2 separate regions of the Homo sapiens genome follow, and region 2 is linked to region 1. Evidence: promoter capture Hi-C in human tissues and cell types (Jung and others, 2019). All regions are on one chromosome and are shown on one strand. Each heading gives the region's core, a stretch centred on a gene start or on the middle of the fragment in contact. The rest is flanking DNA. Distances are from core to core; before and after follow the strand shown.

Region 1 (3,083 bases), core at 409-2,908:
TCTGTGAGCATGCACATACACACATTACAGAATCACCTGAAAAATATCTGTCAACACCATATTTAACCCTAAGTACGTCATCATGTAGCAAGGACATTCCCATGTGTAACTACAATGTCATTATCATGTCCGAAGATTTTAATGTGATACAATAGTGTTTAATATAAAATCCATTGCAAAGTTGAGACTCTGCATTTGAAAAAAAAAAAAAAAAGCTTCCCAGGTGATTGGTGCAGTTGGAGGAGGATTGGAAACCACTATTGGAGTTTTCCTGAATCGATACTGGATGATATCTAATCTCTCCTCTAGTGCCAGCCTTTTGTGGGTTCATTCATGCATCACTAGCACCACAAGGCTCTGGGTAAGTGGGGTCACCACAGAACACGTGACACCAATGACGGACCTGGACTTCAAGGCCTTCCATATCAACAGTGGACAACACCACATTTACAGACTTCTCCAGACGGAGCTCCAACTGCACGTCCACATCCCAGAGCAGCCCTTGCATGGCAACATGAGTACATACATAGGCTCATCGTTTCTCCAACCTGCTTCCCTTCCAGACTTTCACGGAAGCATAGTTTGTGCATTTTTTAATCAAAGCCACTTGGCAGATCACATAGAAGTCAGGTGGAACAGTGAGGGGCAAGATAGTGGAGTAGTAGAAAGAGCATAGGTCTGATTTCTGGCTGGCCCATTTAAGTCACCTTGGACAAGTTACTGTAAACCCAGGTTTCTCATCCACAAGGTGGGGCTAATAATACCTCATTACAAGGATTAAGTGAGAAAACTTGTTGCCTATATCGTATATGTTCACTATCCAAAAAGGTTAAACGTTTGGTTGGTAAATATAATGGCCTCGAATTGATGGCCAGGTTAAAGCTGCCCTTTTGGCTAAGTCTCTTCAGGACTCTGTTGAAATGGGAAGACTGGGATAGATCTCCAAAGCTCCTGCTAACTCTAAACTTCTGAGACTTCATCCAAGCTTAACATCCATCAGCCTCTGCACCAGATAGCCCCTGCAGACCTCTGACTTCCTCTCCCACCCCCTCCCCTGCATTCACATGCATTCACTTAGGCTGGGCGTGTGCGACCTGTCTGTCACCCTGTGGGTTCACTGTGTGGATTCACTCTGTGCTCCAGCTGCTCTGGCCTTGTCCCAGGTCCTCCAGCAACCAAGTTCAGGACTTTTGCACTCACTTCCAGCCTGGAACACTCTTCTGCCTAGATTTTTTGCCTGCCCTTTCCATTTAGAACTCAGTTCAAATGTCACCTCCTCAGTGAGCCCTCTCTTACATCTAAAGTAGCACCCACCGTCCCCTAGTCACTCTCCATCACGTCACCCTGTTTTATTTTCCTTACAAGATAATCTGAAATTATCTTAGTTGATTTGTCATCTGTCTTCCCAAGTTGTTCCTGGAGTTCACCAAAAACTGGAATAAATGGAATGCACGCATGCATTAGTACGTCAATGGAGGGGGATTCTGTCCTACTTTCTTCGTTTCAGGAGCACTCTCTACCCCACCTGACGTCTAAAGGACCCAGAAGGAAAATGGGTAGGCAAATGTGCGCGCCTCCAAGGCCTAGCGGCAGCCGTGTTACCATGGCAGCGTGACGCCGAGGGGGCCGGAAGGCGACGCACTACTACTTCCGCTTCCTCAACAGCAGCACTTCCGGGTTGGGAGAAAGGTGGCGGCGCTTTCGGAGGGTAAGTTGAAAGCGCCTTTGTTGTTTCTGTTTTTCAAAATGCGCGCGTAAAAACTCAGCGTGGGGTGGTGGGTTTCCCCGTCTTCTGGGAGACCCGCCTTTTGGCCTGAGGTCTCCAGGCCGCGGTCTTTGCCCCAGGCCTTATCTCGGGGAAACTGAGGCTTGGGTGTTTTTTTTTTTTTTTTTTAAAGATGGAGTTTTGCTCTTGTCGCCCAGGCTGGAGTGCGGTGGCGCGATCTCGGCTCACTGCAACCTCCGCTTCCTGGGTTCAAGCGATTCTCCTGCCTCAGCCTCCCGAGTAGCTGGGATTATAGGCGCCCGCCACCAAGCCTAGCTAATTTTTGTATTTTTAGTAGAGACAGGGTTTCACCATGTTGGCCAGGCTGGTCTCGAACTCCTGACTTCAGGTGATCCACCCGCCTCGGCCTCTCAAAGTGCTGGGATGACAAGCGTGAGCCACCGCGCCCGGCCGCGGCTTGGGTCTTTGGGAGTGAGAAGATGCAGAATTCACATCTGGTTAGTTCCTCCAGTCTCAGCCCTGGAGCGCCCACCCGGGAGCAGAGCGGGGTCTCTCTCGCACCCCAAAGGCGGTGAGAGAATCCGGGACCAGGTTTGGGCACGTACCTGCAGAGCGGGAAGTGTATGTTCTGAGTAAGGGGGGATAAATGCATATCCGTTCTCAATATGTATCGAGCACTGACTGGGGAGCCATTTGGGAGCAAGATGGCCAGGATTCCAGCCCTCAAGAAGCCGATCATATTATAACTGCCAAAAGTGCAATGGGGAGCAGCTGGTTGTTGGGAAACACTGTTAACCAGAAAGATGAGACCGGCTAAGGAGTTAGAGAGGTCCTCTTGAGAAAGTGGCTTTCATACTTGGACCAGTTAAAGGGCAGAAAGGTAATGCGGAGGAAGAGCTTTCCTGATGGAATGGGCTGTTTTTGCAAAGTTCCTGAGACGAAAAGGAAGGTAGTGTATTCTAGGAACTGAAAACAGCAGGGTTTCTGAAACCTAGAGAGAAGTGAGAGGTAGAGAGGTGGGCATGGACTTACCTCTGTCCATCTCTAGGCTAGATTATGAAGAAATGAAGACTCTTGCAGGTCTGTGAGGATTTTGACTTTATCTTAAGAATAACAGGGGAACCCTAAAAAGTTTTTAGCAGGGAGAGACTATATATTTAGAAGGTTGTACTGGGCTCCAGAGACCAGAGAGCAGCCTAGGAAGTATTTACAAAAAAGAAGGAAAGGAACTGATGGAAGGGGAAATGTTATTTAAAGAAATCAAGGCCGGGCGCTGTGGCTTACGCCTGTAATCCCAGCGCTTTGAGAGGCCGAGGCAGGTGGGTCACCTGAGGTCAGGAGTTCAAGACCAGCCTGG
Region 2 (3,083 bases), core at 283-2,782, 47 kb before region 1:
AGCAGTCCTCCCTGCCTCAGCCTCCCGAGTAGCTGGGATATCAGGTGCCCGCCACCACACCTGGCTAATTTTTGTATTTTTAGTAGAGATGAGGTTTCGCCATGTTGGCCAGGCTGATCTCGAACTCCTGACCTCAGGTGATCCACCCGCCTCGGCCTCCCAAAGTGCTGGGATTACAGGTGTAAGCCACAGCACCCAGCCAGTTCCACTTTTTAAGGTAAGAACCCCACACTACTGGGCTCTGCTGCAATGACAGATGGTATTGCCATCAACAAGGTCCCAGGCCTGATAAAGCCTAGGAAAGGGCCAGCTAGGATCTGCGAGTAGAACAAACTTCACAAGATATCACTGGGCCTTCCCATGGACTGGAGTTCTTTGTGCAGGCTAATTTATTGCCTTTTCTTTCTTTTTTTTTGTAGGATGTTATGACATTTTGTGATGTCCTCACTTCAGGTAATCCTGGGATGGTCTAAGTGATCACTCTCTGACTTAAGGGGACTTTGAAAGAAGTGCCTCAGTGTGTGGTTTGGGTGGGGAGAATTGGCTCAAGTCACTGACTGATTGAAGTCAACAGATGGCCTTAGGTGCCTGAGGTCCACATGTCTACCAGGAGGGCTGGGCCACTAGATGGCTGGCCTGTCCCCATCCACTCAATAACAAGGGCAATGCTGGCCCCTGGCTACGTTATAGGTATGTCTGCCTTCTCAAAGCTAGGATACTGTTGCATAATTAGGAGTGCTTACTTGCTTTCCTGAAGTAGTCTTCACTTCTAGAAAAGGATTCACCACGTGGTTCCATTCAAAAGGGCATTGTATCAAACTATCACTCAATTGGTAAAAAATGTGATGTGTGGGCAGCTTTTCCAGAACACACCAACCAATGAACAATATCAGAGATGCCGATTTCAGCACCTGTTCCCTTTACTTGCAAATGGAAACCTCAGTAACACCTGAACACGTTTTATGGAGAAAGAAGCTTAGTTCCACTTTATTCATGTGGGGAAGTAAAACCAAAGTTTTACCCTAAAAGTTCAAAGAAATCGAACTGACTTACACTGGTTATTTAATATTTTAGAAAGCCCTCGGTTTCCTGGGATGACAAGCTACTCACTGTGTTTTCAGCCTGATCTGATTTTTAAATAGATGAGTTACAACCCTCCTGAAAATTGGGGTTTATAATTGAAATATTGATAAACTCTTTCCCATAAAGAAGCTACTAGATACTGCAGTAATAACTAGGAAATAGGCAAAAAATTATGATGCTTTTCTCTGCTTAGCCAAGAAGTACAATGGCAGAGTTTATTGCATACAAAACACAGCTGCCTTTCTTCAAATTGGATACAAAAAAAATGAACCCCGATAAATTATGATGCCCCTAAATTGCAAAGAATGTACATCAATTATTGGGGGTGCCACCGCCCTCCTTCTGGGCAACCTACTTATTAGGACTGTAATTTATTATTATTATGCTTTGGTGCAAATACACACGCTGATAAATTCAAATCTGTTAAAACAAATGTCCTCCTTTCTCTGAATCAGTAAGGGACAACATTCCAAAAGAAAGTATTGTAAATGTGAAAAGCAAATGGCTCTTACGTACTCAGAAGTGAGAGACCAAAAGATGATTGATTAAGGGAGAAAACATCCAGAATGATCCAAGCTTTCTGACTCCTACCCAAGAATCCAAGAATTGCTACAAGAGTGGGCAGCAAGATACAGGGTTGGGGTTCATTACCTGGTGCCCCTGGCTCCAGCCCCCACACTGAAGCCCTTTTTATGAAAACAAACGGTTTCTGTGGGGTTTTTAAATGAATCTTTTGGCTTCAATTGGAACCAACATGATATATATTTCCTTCCACCAGATATATGAATTATATTGGCTTTATTTTATTTTATTTTTTGAGACGGAGTCTCGCTCTGTCGCCCAGGCTGGAGTGCAATGGCGTGATCTCAGCTCACTGCAACCTCCGCCTCCCGGGTTCAAGCAATTCTCCTGCCTCAGCCTCCCAAGTAACTGGGATTACAGGCGCATGCCGTCTTGCCCAGCTAATTTTTTTGTATTTTAGCAGAGACGGAGTTTCACCGTGTTGCCCAGGCTGGTCTCGAACTCCGGAGCTCAGGCAATCCACCTGCCTCAGCCTCCCAAAGTGCTAGGATTACAGGTGTGAGCCACTGCGCCCGGCCTATATTGGCTTTTTAAAAAGCTGAACGTTAAATTTGGGAAGGATTTTAGGAATCACTGTTACTCCCCTCCTTTTACAGAAGAGGAAATGGAGATTCACTGAGGGCATGAAGGGAAGAGTGAAGGCTGAGTGTCAGGTCCATGCCCCAGGTTCATCCAGCTTCACTAACTTGCTGCTTGGCAAAAGAAAAGCCAAGTGGTTCGTGTTGACTGAGCACACACCATGAGTCTAATGCTTTTCTCTGCTTAGCCAAGAAATACAATGGCAGAATTTATTGCCATTAACTCTGCTTAATGGCAGCGCCACTAAGAGCTTTTCAGGTATATTAGGAATGGAACTCCTTCTTAGAGTCAAAGAATTTGAGAGTCAGAAAGGGTCATCTGGTCCTCCCTCCTGCTCAGGTCCAATAAATGTTCCTTGCAGAGTCAGTGGGTCTCCAGGCTGTTTAGTTCCTTCTGGGACAGAGCACCCCTGCTGCATGAGGCACCCCATCTCAGCAACAGATCCGTCACACTCTCGGGCACCTCTTCTTTATATCCAATTGGAGTCTGCCTCCCTGGAGCTTCCACCGAGGTCCTAGTCCTGATTCTTAGTTGCTGGGCACAGGCCTGACTCCTGGTGCAGAATCCAATGTTAGTGGCAGTTCAATAGCTCTCTCTGGAGTAAAACAGAAAAGCCACCTTCTTCAGAGACTTGAAAATCATGCTCCAATTCTATTTTGGCCTTTTCTTCTCCTTCAACTGGTCCTCCTGTGGTTTCTGGACTGCTCACCAACCTGGCCCCCTCCTCTTCAGGCTGCAGTACCCAAGGTAATCAGAGCTGAGCCCAGGTGCTCTTTGCAAAGCAGGGGCACGGGAAGGGGTCTTGCCTATTTATAACATCAGTGCCCAAACCAACGCCA

Evidence for each region. Contacts are between HindIII fragments. The study calls those that stand out against the background at their distance.
Region 2: a fragment that was not itself captured here is called in contact with the fragment with the promoter of TTF1 in region 1 in 1 of the 25 tissues and cell types used here (thymus).

The regions. Positions count from the first base shown.
Region 1 is chr9:132,405,415-132,408,497 of GRCh38, reverse strand. It overlaps TTF1 (transcription termination factor 1), which reads left to right and starts at 1,658. Exons shown (of 11, transcript NM_007344.4): 1 at 1,658-1,708. The HindIII fragment of the contact is 7,318 bases long and covers 601-3,083 here.
Region 2 is chr9:132,452,343-132,455,425 of GRCh38, reverse strand. The region is part of intron 1 of CFAP77 (cilia and flagella associated protein 77); the gene reads right to left. Among named protein-coding and RNA genes, the nearest start is that of CFAP77, 44 kb to the right of the region's middle. The HindIII fragment of the contact is 4,956 bases long and covers 1-3,083 here.